Linked DNA regions of Homo sapiens: regions 1, 3 and 4 are each linked to region 2. Evidence: promoter capture Hi-C in 16 types of primary human blood cells and fetal thymus (Javierre and others, 2016). All regions are on one chromosome and are shown on one strand. Each heading gives the region's core, a stretch centred on a gene start or on the middle of the fragment in contact. The rest is flanking DNA. Distances are from core to core; before and after follow the strand shown.

The links. The method cuts DNA at HindIII sites, captures the fragments that hold promoters and counts their contacts. A CHiCAGO score of 5 or more calls a contact.
Region 1: a contact is called between a fragment that was not itself captured here and the fragment with the promoter of CCNB2 in region 2, in 3 of 17 cell types (monocytes, naive CD8 T cells and non-activated CD4 T cells). The highest score is 7.7, in monocytes.
Region 3: a contact is called between a fragment that was not itself captured here and the fragment with the promoter of CCNB2 in region 2, in 1 of 17 cell types (neutrophils). The highest score is 6.1, in neutrophils.
Region 4: a contact is called between a fragment that was not itself captured here and the fragment with the promoter of CCNB2 in region 2, in 2 of 17 cell types (M1 macrophages and monocytes). The highest score is 5.9, in M1 macrophages.

What each region holds. Positions count from the first base shown.
Region 1 is chr15:59,514,998-59,518,284 of GRCh38, reverse strand. FAM81A (family with sequence similarity 81 member A) reads right to left here. Exons shown (of 9, transcript NM_152450.3): 8 at 1,445-1,640. Among named protein-coding and RNA genes, the nearest start is that of FAM81A, 78 kb to the right of the region's middle. RefSeq lists an enhancer at 2,957-3,026. The HindIII fragment of the contact is 7,154 bases long and covers 1-3,287 here.
Region 2 is chr15:59,103,716-59,107,178 of GRCh38, reverse strand. It overlaps CCNB2 (cyclin B2), which reads right to left and starts at 2,033. Exons shown (of 9, transcript NM_004701.4): 1 at 1,887-2,033. The coding sequence starts at 1,910. RefSeq lists an enhancer at 2,221-2,510. The HindIII fragment of the contact is 2,621 bases long and covers 145-2,765 here.
Region 3 is chr15:59,538,395-59,541,713 of GRCh38, reverse strand. No RefSeq gene overlaps it. Among named protein-coding and RNA genes, the nearest start is that of GCNT3, 72 kb to the left of the region's middle. The HindIII fragment of the contact is 5,264 bases long and covers 1-3,319 here.
Region 4 is chr15:59,494,718-59,497,676 of GRCh38, reverse strand. All of the region lies in intron 4 of FAM81A (family with sequence similarity 81 member A), which reads right to left. Among named protein-coding and RNA genes, the nearest start is that of FAM81A, 58 kb to the right of the region's middle. The HindIII fragment of the contact is 9,786 bases long and covers 1-2,959 here.

The DNA.
Region 1 (3,287 bases), core at 622-3,121, 410 kb before region 2:
ATCATGAGGCTAGGCCTGGTGGCTCTTGCCTGTAATCCCAGCACTTCAGCAGGCCGAGGCGGGAGGATCATTTGAGGTTGGGGGTTCAAGACTAGCCTGGCCAACATGGTGAAACCTTGTTTCTATTAAAAAAAAAAAAAAAAAATTAGCCGGCCGTGATGTCAGGCGCCTGTAATCCCAGCTACTCAGGAGGCTGAGGCAGGAGAATCGCTTGTACCCTGAAGGCAGAGGTTGCAGTGAGCCAAGATCACGCCACTGCACTCCAGGCTGGCAACAGAGCAAGATTCTGTCTCCAAAACAAAAAAAAAAAAGGAAGAAAGAAGAAATATATTGTCTTTGTAATAAAGAAAATGGCTTTATTTTTTAAAAGGCTCAGATGCTTTTCATATTAGGTGCTAAATATTAACATCCTCAATGGTATGTTAAATAACAATACATTCCTTCAGGGAATGATGCGAGGTTAAACATTGATGAAATATTCAAATACCATATTTTAATAGTCCAAAGACTAAGAAAGAAAATTCATTTTTATCTTTACAAGTTCTCCAATTCATATATTTAATTGTAGCTCCTATAAATAAAATAATAAACATTTGGTGGTAATAACAAAATTATTCTAGGGATAACTAGCACTTTTATTTCCATGTGGCCAAAACAGAACAATTTCATAGAAGAAAATTCATGGAATCATACAACTGGAAGAAGCTAGGAGAGAATTTAGTTCCACTTCTCACACTACAGGAACGTCTTCTTCCTGACCACAATCAACCAGCCTCTACTTGAATATTTTCTGTAACAAAGAGCTCTCAAGCTCCGAAAGCCATCAGTCTTTTAGGACTCATTAACTTCAAGGTACTTCTGCCTCATATTGAGTTAAAATCTGTCTTCGGGTACCTTCCACTTAGTGGTCACAGTTCTGTATTCCTGAGTTCAGAGCGTAAATCTAATCCCTCCCATATATGACAGCACTCAGAACTTGAAATCAGTGCTAATGTTCTCCTCTAAGCAAGTGTGAATTAATGCGCCCTGCTGACCTGCCAGTAGAGGAAAATCATTCTTTGCCAGGGTGGTACTGTACTGCTAGCACTATAAAATAAGCCCTCAAAACCCCCTCAAAGATATGTGCTTCCTTCTGAGACATGTTAACCTTGGCTATGAACAGAAAAGAATTGGCCGATGGTGCTGAAGAAAATGTACCTCAGTTGCAGGCTAAGCAATTTCAGTTCTGTTTGCCTGTCTCTCACGGTGGCTCTTTATATAGCTGAAATTCAAACAGCATTGTAGCTACTTAGAAAATACAGCACAGCTACTCAGAAAATCAACTAAGGATATTTCACGGTTATTACCATTAGCCAGGTTCATAGGTAGTTGCAGGGGATACTAATTAATAGGTTTTAGAACAAACAGAAAATAAAGCACGTGAGCTGTTCTGGTTTTGGCCTACCAGCATTAACTTCTGCTTTCATTTCCTTGATGTTCTGGTTCATCTGTAACTCCAGCTTGGTGATTCGCCCGTGCATCTTCTCCTCTTCTTGCCTTGTTCTCTGACCATCAAAAGTCTTCTTTTGACCCTCTTCTATTTTGTCAAGCCTGGCTGACATCTGGCTGAGCTTCTTCTCCATATCCCTTTCACTGGCTCCCTGAGATCCATGATAAGAACTGCACTTAATCACTCCAAAAAGAAATCTGCATTGCATTCACATCAGCCATAATATCGTTTAACAACAATCTGCAAGAAACAGATTTGCAACAGCTGCTTGTTGCCCACCATAATATCCGTTCTCCCTTTCTTCCTTAACAGATCCATGATTTTCGGCTGGGTACAAGGTCATTCAAAACAAAGACTACATTTTCAGGCTGGGTGCGGTGGCTCACGCCTGTAATTCCAGCACTTTGGGAGGCCGAGGCAGGCAGATCACTTGAGGTCAGGAGTTCGAGACAAGCCTGGCCAACATGGTGAAACCCTGTCTTTATTAAAAATACAAAAATTAGCCAGGGATGGATGGTGGTGGGTGCCTGTAATCCCAGCTACATAGGAGGCTGAGGCAGGAGAATCACTTGAACAGGGGAGGCGAGGTTGCAGTGAGCCAAGATCTCGCCATTCCACTCCAGCCTGGGTAACAGAGTGAGACTCTGTCTCAAAAAAAAAAAAAAAAAACCACTACATTCAATGAGATGTAAGTACAAGTGTATATGGCAGCTTCCAGGAAAAGTTAAAAGACAGCTGATGTATCTCCTTACTTCTTCCTTCGTCCTTCCCTTTCTGGAATTCAGCCAGAATGGCTGGAGCTCTAGCAGCTATATTGAATTATGAAGATATGGATCACTCTAGGGTTGGCAAAAAGTTAAACTGGAAGGATCCTGGGTCACTGAGGACTGAGAAGCTATCATACCAGTCCTGCATTACCTATACCCAGACTTCCATTATGCGAAATAAAAAATAAGTTTCTATTTCATGAAAGCCACTATTATCCTGGGGTTTACTGTTAGCTATTAAACCAATCCATATATAAACAGTGATCCAAAGACCAAGAATTATTAGTACAAATGTATTAGTATAAATCCAAGTAAGCCAATTAGTAGATGTGATGGAAATATGGGGAAATACTTAAAAGAACATATTTAATATTTTAAATATATATAAAATCATATATGAAAATTAAGTCTTTCCTTTCCTTTTGCCTTTCCACATGCTTGGTTTTTATGGGAATCTGTGTCTGCCAGTGAGCTTGGAGGCCAAGACTGCAAACTCCAAGCTGTAAGTGGGTTATGGCATGATACTCCTCTCTTGATGGTGCTCAATGCAGAGTCTGCAATTCAACAGCTCCACATCTGGAGAGAGCAGAGTCAGAGATGTACTGCACCAGTCATTTCAGCTCAATCATCAATATCCAACAAGAGGAAACAGTACAAGAAAAGGGAAGGGAGACAGAGATGTCATGCTAAACAATGAAAACCAATGAAACTTTGCTTGCCAGGTACTGGTTTGGGAGCATAACAATTTTGAATACTACATATGCAAGACTTTTTTTTCTTTTTTTGAGATAGAGTCTCACTCTGTCGCCCAGGCTGGAGTGCAGCGTGCAGTCATACCTCACTGCAGTTTTGACCTTCCTGGGCTCAAGGTGGATTCAGGCTCAGCCTCCTGAGTAGCTGGGACTACAAGCGTGTGTCACCATGCTCAGCTAATTTTTGTGTTTTTTGTAGAGATGGGGTTTCACCATGTTTCCCAGGCTGGTCTCGAACTCCTGGGCTCAAGCGATCCTCCCGCCTCAGCCTCCCAAAGT
Region 2 (3,463 bases), core at 784-3,283:
GTCTAAAAATGCTATTTGTGATTAATAACATCACTCTAAATTAGGCAAATCACCCATCTACTTTATCCGTAATAAAGATCCTCCCACTAACCTTGCAAAGCTATTCTGAGTATTCAAGTGGGCCTGTAAGAGAACTTCAAAGCTTATTAGTATTTAATGATTATTTCTCATATAGTACCCATATCACTTGTTAGAGATCCCTGCAAGTTAAAGGCATATATTTAAAAACCTTCCTTTACAGAGCTTGGTAAAAAGTAAATTAAGATGAAAAATAATAAAGCTATAATATTAATAGTTAATAATAGGTCTGGTTGTTTAAAAACCAGATGTTTAAAACCTAAACTAGCTTTGATTCTTATGCCATTTCACAAATAAGAAATGCTCCTGTATGCATGATCTTTTAGAACTACAGCTTTTTAAAATGAGGTTGCCATAGAATGGATTTTCTCTTATATTAAGGACATTTAGAATGGAAGTAGTTTTCTTGAGTAATATAGTTTTAGCTCCCAAACTCAGGGAAGGTTGGAATTGTATGAAATAAAAATTGTCAGTTGACCTTAACCTGCTTTAGACATAATGTGCTTGGAAATAAAACTTGCTAGGAAAAGCAACTCATACCAAAAAAAGTTTATTATAGAAGTGATAAACATTTCATTAAAAAAGAAAAAAGCAAAAAACCAGCATGTCCTATCCCTGAGAGTTCAGGGTCCCGACTCTAATAAAACTCCCAACAAGGGGTTTGAGTGGATCTACCAGGCAGAGAGAGGGGCCAGGGAAACTCAAGCCTTCCCTGAACAGAAAGGTTTTGACTATTAAATAACGTTATAGAATACATTATTATAAAAAATTACTTGTCAGTTGGACTTAGATCCACAAAAGGATATTAATTAAATGCTAAATGTATTCAATCTATTAGGATTCTCAAAAGTCACACTTCAATTTCTTCCAGCAGCAACTGCCAATCTGAAAAAGTGTTTGAAAATGTAATGCTTATGGGTAGAAGCCTGGTAATGTGACTCAATTTAAATTCATCTGGATAGGAAAATTGGCAGCTTTTATCTAACCTTATAGCCAAGATGATGGAACTCAGGTGTGTCAGGGCCCTCTAGCTTTCGGCAAAGGAAAAAAGTAGGTCCCGGTACAATTCAAGCCCACAGGAAAAATACCCAAAACACCATAACACTTTGATCTCTGCAAGGATGAAATAAATGAATTTGGACCCTTTTCTCTCAGTCTGCCACATTGGTCCAAATTATATTCAAAAACCTCTGTTACATTTGAGTAAAGAAATTAATTTTTTAAGGGGACAAACCCATTTATTAGTGAACGTAGCATGGAAGACTTAGCGTGCCGAAATAAATGGGAAACTCATACAAAAAGAAATGTGAACAATCTGAAAAACAGCCTGGCAGTTGCCTGATGAAACACGCCGTACACTTTACTGCCTACAGAACCCTTCCAGTCCTCCTCCCAGCCGCCATCACAGGTCCCTTAGTTGGCAAGGAGTTGTAAGAAAGGGGGAGGGAAATCCCAGGAACGTGGAAGTAGATAACTCTCTAGCAATGAAGAGCACTCGGGGATCGCTCGCTGAGTACTAGGCCTAGTGCTCTGGGGGCTCACTTGACAGGCGCCATCTCGGAAGCGCTTTCCTACACTTCTCCCACCCCGGGGCAGGGAGGGGTTAGGGGAGGGCGGAATCCAGACGGGGAAAGGCGGGCCGGAGAGGACCGGCCGCAGGGCCAGGGACGCGGGCGAAGCAGTGAGCTCCGGAGAAGAGAAAAGCAGCCCCGGTTGGGACGGAGAAGCTCGGAGCAGATGAGAGAAGCGACAGGGGAGCTGTGGGGCCGACGGACTCGCCTCTGAGAGCGGTCCCCGGGCACACTCACCGTCGGGCGTCGGAGCAGCGCCATGAGGGACGGGGAAGGCAAGAGTGCCAGCCCGGCCCAGGGAGGGACGCGGACTGAAAAGGGAGGACACTAGCGTACGAGGCGCCGTTAGGACTGCTCTCCGAGCCCGCAGCGCTGGGGATCTTCGACGCTGTAGCCTTGTTCCAGGATTCAAATACCGCGTCGCTTGCGCCCCATTGGGCGGCCCTGCGCACGGGTCGCTGTTCTCATTGGCCAACACAAGATGCACTCTCGCACTCTCATTGGCTGAATTTTCTTAGACACGTTTGATTGTCACAACAGCCGGTTGGGGTGTTTTTTCTGCCTACAGTCTTTTAAAAAAAAAAAAACCCCAGTCTCTGAGACAAACAAAAAGGAACTGTCTCATTGGGAAAGCAGACGTAGGACGCCTCTGAATTTTGACAAGGCCTCATCTACGAATTTCTCTCGACGTTTGTAGTGGGTGGGCGGAAGTTGGTTGGCCTTTATTCCTCTTCTGGTGTGTTGGGGTTTAAGTTGTGTTGGCCTGGGTGCAGGAACCGGCCCCTCCGGGTTGCTCAGGGATGCAGTGTGTTAGGTGGTTGAGATGCAAAAGTGTGCTTAAAAAAAGAGAGAATAATGGCGTTTACTCAAAAACCCAAATTCTCAAGTAAGGCAAAAAAAAAAAAAAAAAGATAAAAGAGATTTGTGTGACTGGTGATTCATGTAAGTTCTCCATTGTATTCCCAACACCTAGTACATCGTTTGTCGTATATGGTTGGTGCTCAATAAATGTTCGTCTAATAATCAGCCCAAGCAAAGAATTCATGTCTAAGACCCCAAAAGCAAATGCAACAAAAACAAAAATACATAAATGGGACCTAATTAAACTAAAAAGCTTCTGCACATCAAAAGAAATAATAGACAACCACAGATTAAGAGAAAATATTTGCAAACTATGCATCGGAAAAAGGCCTAGTGTCCAGAATCTAGAAGGAACTCAAATCAGCAAGAAAGAAAATAATGCCATCAAAAAATGGGCAAAGGACATGAATAGATATTTCTCAAAAGATATTCAAATGGCCAACAAATACATGAAAAAATGCTCAACATCACTGATCATCGAAGAAATGCAAGTTAATACCACAAGGAGATACCACCTTACTCCTGCAAGAATGGCCATCATTAAAAAGTCAGAAAAAAAGGCCGGGCGCAGTGGCTCACACCTGTAATCCCAGCACTTTGGGAGGCCTGTTGGGCAGATCATTTGAGCCCAGGTGTTCAAGACCAGCCTGGGCAACATGGCAAAACCCCGTCTCTACAAAAATACAAATATTAGCCGGGTGTAGTGGTGAGCACCTGTAGTCCCAGGTACTGGGAGGGGGGCGGGGGGCGGGGGGCGGGGGGCCGTGTGTTGGGGCAGGAGGATCCCTTGATCCCATGAGTCTGAGGCTGCAGTGAGCCATGATTGTGCCACAGTACTCCAGCCTGGGCAACACATTGAAACCCTGTCTAAAAAAGAAAAAAAACCTCAAAAAACAATAGTCAAAAAACAGTGTAGGCGTGGATGTGGGGAAAAGGGAATGCTTAAACACTGC
Region 3 (3,319 bases), core at 333-2,832, 430 kb before region 2:
GGGCACTGGGAGGGTTTTCCAGTGTCTCAGGTGATTCTAATGTGCGGCTGTGGTTGCCAACCTCTGCTCTAGTTTTTCAAACATTAAAGAGTATACAGTGCACCTGTGGATCTTGTTGAACTGCAGAATTTGATGCAGGAGGTCTGGGCTAGGGCTTCTAACAATCTCCAGGAGAGTCCAGGCAGCAGGACTGGGAGGTCTGGAGTTCGAGACCAGCCTGGCCAACACGGCAAAACCCCATCTCTACTAAAAATACAAAACTTAGCTGGGCATGGTGGCGGGCACCTGTAATCCCCGCTACTTGGGAGGCTGAGGCAGGAGAATCACTTGAGCCCAGGAGGTGGAGGTTGCAGTGTGCCGAGATCATGCTATTGCACTCCAGCCTGGATGACAAAAGTGAAACTCTGTTTCAAAAAAAAGAAAGGGAGGGAAGGAAGGAAGGAGGAAGGGAGGGAGGGAAGGGAAGGAGGGAGGGAGGGAGGGAGGAAGGGAAGGAAGGAAGGAAAGAAGGAAGGAAGGAGGGAAAGATTTCAAGTGCTATCCTGAGAATGATTCCATCTCAACAGTTTCCTTAGGCCATTTAATTCAGTTCAAATTTCCAAGCCAAAGTATTTGCCCCTTAGTGGGAGGTAAGGAGTCCTTTCAATAACATTTCCACCAGAACCACACAGAACCGGGGCTTGTTCTTCAAGAGAAGCCAGAGGCTGTCACCCTAGTAAAAGAAGGCACAGGCTGGCCAGGCAGCAGGAGACATCCACTTCAACCCAGTTATATTTTGAACCCAAAGGCACAACCACGTCTTTATCTTTATTACATTTTTAAATGGATGTTGAGTGTTTATTTTCCTCCAGGTTATTGGTAGAGAGTGTTTTAATATTTTTATCACTCCAAAAAGAAACCTTGTCCGCATTAGCAGTCACTTATCATTCCACCTTCACCCCAGTTTCTGGAAACCACCAAGCCACTTTCTGTGTTTATAGATTGGCCTGTTCTGAACATTTTATAATGCATGAAATTTTACCCTATGTGGTCTTTTGTGACTGGCTTCCTTCACTTCAGATATATTTCCAGGCTGGTCGTGGTGTCTCACACCTATAATCACAGTACTTTGTGAGACCGAGGTGGGTAGATCGTTTGAGCCCAGGAGTTTGAGAACAGCCTGGGCAACATGGCGAAACCCCATCTCTACTAAAAATACAAAAATCAGTCAGGCATGGTGGTGAGCACCTGCATTCCCAGCTGTTTTGGGGGCTGAGGCACGAGGATCACCTGAACCTTGGGAGATCCAGGCTGCAGTGAGCCGTGATCAGGCCGCTGCACTCCAGCCTGGGCAACAGAGTGAGATACTGTCTCAAAACATTTAATTTTAAAAAAAAAGAATCTTTCCAAGGGTCATCCATGATGTAGCATGGATCACAATTCCATTCCTTTTTACGGCTGAATAATATTACATTGTATTATGTGCCACATTTTATTTATCCATTCATCAGTTGATGAATATTTGTGTTGTTCCCACCTTTTGTCTACTATGAAAATGCTTCTATGAATATTCTTTTTTTTTTTTTAGATTTCCTCAAATTCCTTTTTGTCATGTTATGAATATTCTTGTACAGGTCTTTGTGTGGACCTAGGTTTTCAGTTCTTTGGTGTACACACTTAGCAGTAAAACTGCTGGGTCATATGGGAACTCTATACTCAACATTTTGAAGAACTGCCTGTTTACCACACTCTTTTCCAGGGTGTGGCATGGTGACTCACATCTGTAATCCTAGCACTTTGGGAGGCCAAGGCAGAAGGATCACTTGAGGAGTTCAAGGTCAGCCTGAGCAACATAATAAGACCCTGCCTCTACCAAGAAAAAAAAAATATATATATATATATATACACGTATATATATACGCGTATATATATACACGTATATATATACACATATACACACGTATATATATACACGTATATATACACACGTATATATATACACGTATATATACACACATATATATACACGTATATATACACACATATATACACGTATATATACACACGTATATATACACGTATATATACACACGTATATATACACGTATATATACACACGTATATATACACGTATATATACACACGTATATATACACGTATATATACACACGTATATATACACGTATATATACACACGTATATATACACGTATATATACACACGTATATATACACGTATATATACACACGTATATATACACGTATATATACACACGTATATATACACGTATATATACACACGTATATATACACGTATATATACACACGTATATATACACGTATATATACACACGTATATATACACGTATATATACACACGTATATATACACGTATATATACACACGTATATATACACGTATATATACACACGTATATATACACGTATATATACACATATATATACACGTATATACGTATATATACACATATACGTATGTATATACACACATATACACGTATATATATATGTACATATATACACACATATATACGTACATATACATACACACACACATATATATACACACACACATATATATGTGTATATATACACATACATATATATAAAAAATATATAGCTGGGTGTGGTGGCCTGCACTGATACTCTTAAATACTCAGGAGGCCGAGTGGGTAGGATCACTTGAGCCAGGAGGTTGAGGCTACAGTGAGCTATAATTGTATCACTGCACTCTAGCCTGAGCAACAGAGTGAAAACTTATCTCAAAAATAAATAAGTAAATGAAACCAAAGGGGCTGCACCAGTTTGCATTTTCACTGGCAATATATGAGGTTTCCAAATTTCTTCACATCTTCATCAAAACTTGTTACTAGCCAGGCACAGAGCCTGATGTCTGTCATTCCGGCATTTTGGGAGGCTGAGGTGGAAGGATTGCTGGAGACCAAGAGTTTCAGACCAGCCTGGGCAACACAGTAAGACCCTGTCTCAAAAAAAAAAAATTGATTAGCTGGGTGTGATGGCATGCACCTGTGGTCCCAGGTGGGGAGGCTGATGCAGGAGGATCTCTCGAGCCCAGGAAGTCAAGGCTGCAGCGAGCCATGTTCATGCCTCTGCATTCCAGCCTGGACAACAGAGTGAGACTCTTTCCAAACAAACAAACAGACAAAAAAAACAAAAGCACACAAAACTTGTTATTGCCTGTCTTTTTTTATTCTTAATAAGATTGAAATGGTATTTCATTGTGTGTTGCTGTTTGTTTTTTTTGCGGGGGGTGGGGGGTTTGAGACAGAGTCTTGCTCTGTCATCCAAGCTGGAGTGCAG
Region 4 (2,959 bases), core at 209-2,708, 390 kb before region 2:
CCTGGCCTCAAACTCCTGGCCTCAAACTCCTGGCCTCAAGCAATCCTCCTACCTTGGCCTCCCAAATCCCTGGGATTACAGGCATGAGACACTGAACCCACTGAAAGACTTAATATTTTTAAAATGGCAATATTCCCCAAACGGATCTACAGATTCAACACAGTCCCTATCAATATTCCAACTGGTTTCTTTGCAGAAATTGACAAACTGATCTTAAATTTTTTTTTTTTTGAGACAGAGTCTTGCTCTGTTGCCCAGGCTGGAGTGCAGTGGCACAACCTCGGCTCACTGCAGCCTCCGCCTCTCAGGTTCAAGCGATTATCCTGCCTCAGCCACCCGAGTAGCTGGGATTACAGGTGGCCACTACCACACCTGGCTAATTTTTGTATTTTTAGTAGAGATGGGATTTCACCATGTTGGCCAGGCTGGTCTCAAACTCCTGATCTCGTGATCTGCCCACCTCAGCCTCCCAAAGTGCTGGGATTACAGGCGTGAGCCGCCATGCCTAGCCTGATCCTAAATTTCTTCTTCTTCTTCTTCTTCTTCTTTTTTAAATTTGAGACAAAGTTTTGCTCTGTCACCCAGGCTGGAGTGCAGTGGCACAATCCCGGCTCACTGCAACCTCTAGGTTCAAGCGATTCTCCTGCCTCAGCCTCCCCAGGAGCTGAGATTACAGGTGTGCGCTACCACACCCAGCTAATTTTTGTCTTTTTGGTAGAGATGGGATTTCACCATGTTGGCCAGGCTGATCTCAAATACCTGACCTCAGGAGATCCACCCGCCTTGGCCTCCCAAAGTGCTGGGACTACAAGCGTGAGCCACTGCACCTGGCCTGATCCTAAATTTCATAAGGAAATACAATGGACCTAAAACAGCTAACACAATCTTGAAAAAAAAGGATGAAGTTGGAGGACTCACACTTCTCAATTTCAAAATGTACCACAAAGCTATAGCAATCAAGACAGTGTGGTACCAGCATAAGAAAATAATTGAGAATCAATGGAATAGAATTGAGAGTCTACAAATAAATCTATACACCTATTTGCCAAGTGATTTTCTTTCTTTTTTTTTTGAGATAGAGTCTTGCTATGTTGCCCAGGCTGGAGTGCAGTGGCGAGATCTTGGCTCACTACAACCTCCGCCTCCCAGGTTCAAGTGATTCTCCTGCTTCAGCCTCCTGAGTAGCTGGGACTACAGGCGCAGGCCGCCACACCTGGCAAATTTTTGTATTTTTAGTAGAGACGGGGTTTCACCATATTGGTCAGGCTGGTCTTGAACTCCTGACCTCCTGATCTGCCCGCCTCGGCCTCCCAATGCACTGGGATTACAGGCGTGAGCCACCGCTCCCGGCCGCCAAGTGATTTTTCAACTAGGGTGCCAAGACCATTTGATGGGGGAAAGAATAGACTTTTCAACAAATTATGCTGGGATAAATAGATATCTACAAGGAAAATAATAAATGTGGAACCTTACCTTATACTATATACAAAAAAATTAACTAAAAATGGATCACAGGCCTAAATGTAAGAGCTGAAACTATAAAACTTAAAAAGAAAATATAGGCATAAATCTTTGTGACCTGGATTAGGCAAGAGTTTCTTAAATATGACACCCCAAACACTAGCAACTGAAGAAAAGATAGATGTTAGATATAAGCAAGATTAAAAATTTTTAAGTTTCAAAAGACATGAGAAAATGAAAAGACATCCCTTAGAATGGGACAGTAATTTTTCAAATCAGATATCTGATAAGGGAATTATATCTAGAATATATAATTTTTAAAACTCCTACAGCTCAATAATAGAAAGACAATTACCCAATTTAAAAATGGGCAAGGAATCTGAATAAATATTTTCCTAAAGAAGATATGCCAATGACGAGCAAGCACATTAAATGATGTTCAACACCATTAGTCCTCAGGGGGATGCAATCAAAACCACAATGAGATACCTCTTCAAACCCACTGGGATGGCTATAATCGAAAAGATAGAAAACAACTGTTAGTGAGGATGTGAAGGAATCGGAGCCCTCAGACACTGCTGGGGGCAATGTAAAGTGGCGGCCACTTCGGCAAACAGTCTAGCTGCGCTGTTCCTCAAAAGTTGAATATAGAGTTATCATGTTACTCAGCTTTTTCATTCTAGGTACATATCCAAGAGAAATGAAAACCTATGAGCACACAAAAACAAATAGACAAATGTTCACAGCAGCATTATTTAAAATAGTCAAAAGTGGAAACAACCCCAACGTTCAACTGATGAACAGGTTTTTAAAATGCAGTACACAATGAGGTACTATGCAGCCATAACAAGGAATGTAGTGCTGATACATGCTACAACATGGATGAACCCTGAAAACATGATGCTAAGTGTCAGAAGCCAGAATCAAGGGAACACATTCACTCGAAATGCTCAGAAGAGGGAAATCCATCAGACAGAGAATGTAGGCCTGCCATGGACTGGGGAACTGGGGAGGCTGGGGAAAAATGGGGAGTGACAGCTAACAGGTATGGGGTTTCTTTTTGGATGATAAAAACGTTCTGAAATCGATTGTGGTGATGACTACATGACTGTGTGAATACACTAAAAATCACTGAATTGTGTGCTTTAAGTAGGTGACTTATATAGTTAGATCTCACTAAAGGTGTTCAGAGAGAGAGAGGAGAGAGAAAGGAGGCTATGTATCGGGCCTTCAGGTCTGATCAAGTCCTGTTTAGAACACGGTATGCCACATGAGCTAAATGTGTATCTCATCTTTATGGAGAACTTGCCTTTGCCCTTCTGAGCTGGATTTACAGGGGAAAAAAATCAAGGCCCATTTGCTACTAATTACATCACCAATGGACACATAAAAACTATAAAATTAAATATGAAATAATATAGCAACCTAGTGTCTTAAGAATACCACTTAAAATGTTCATACCCCTCCAATACAATTACATAATCAACACAAGAAAGCC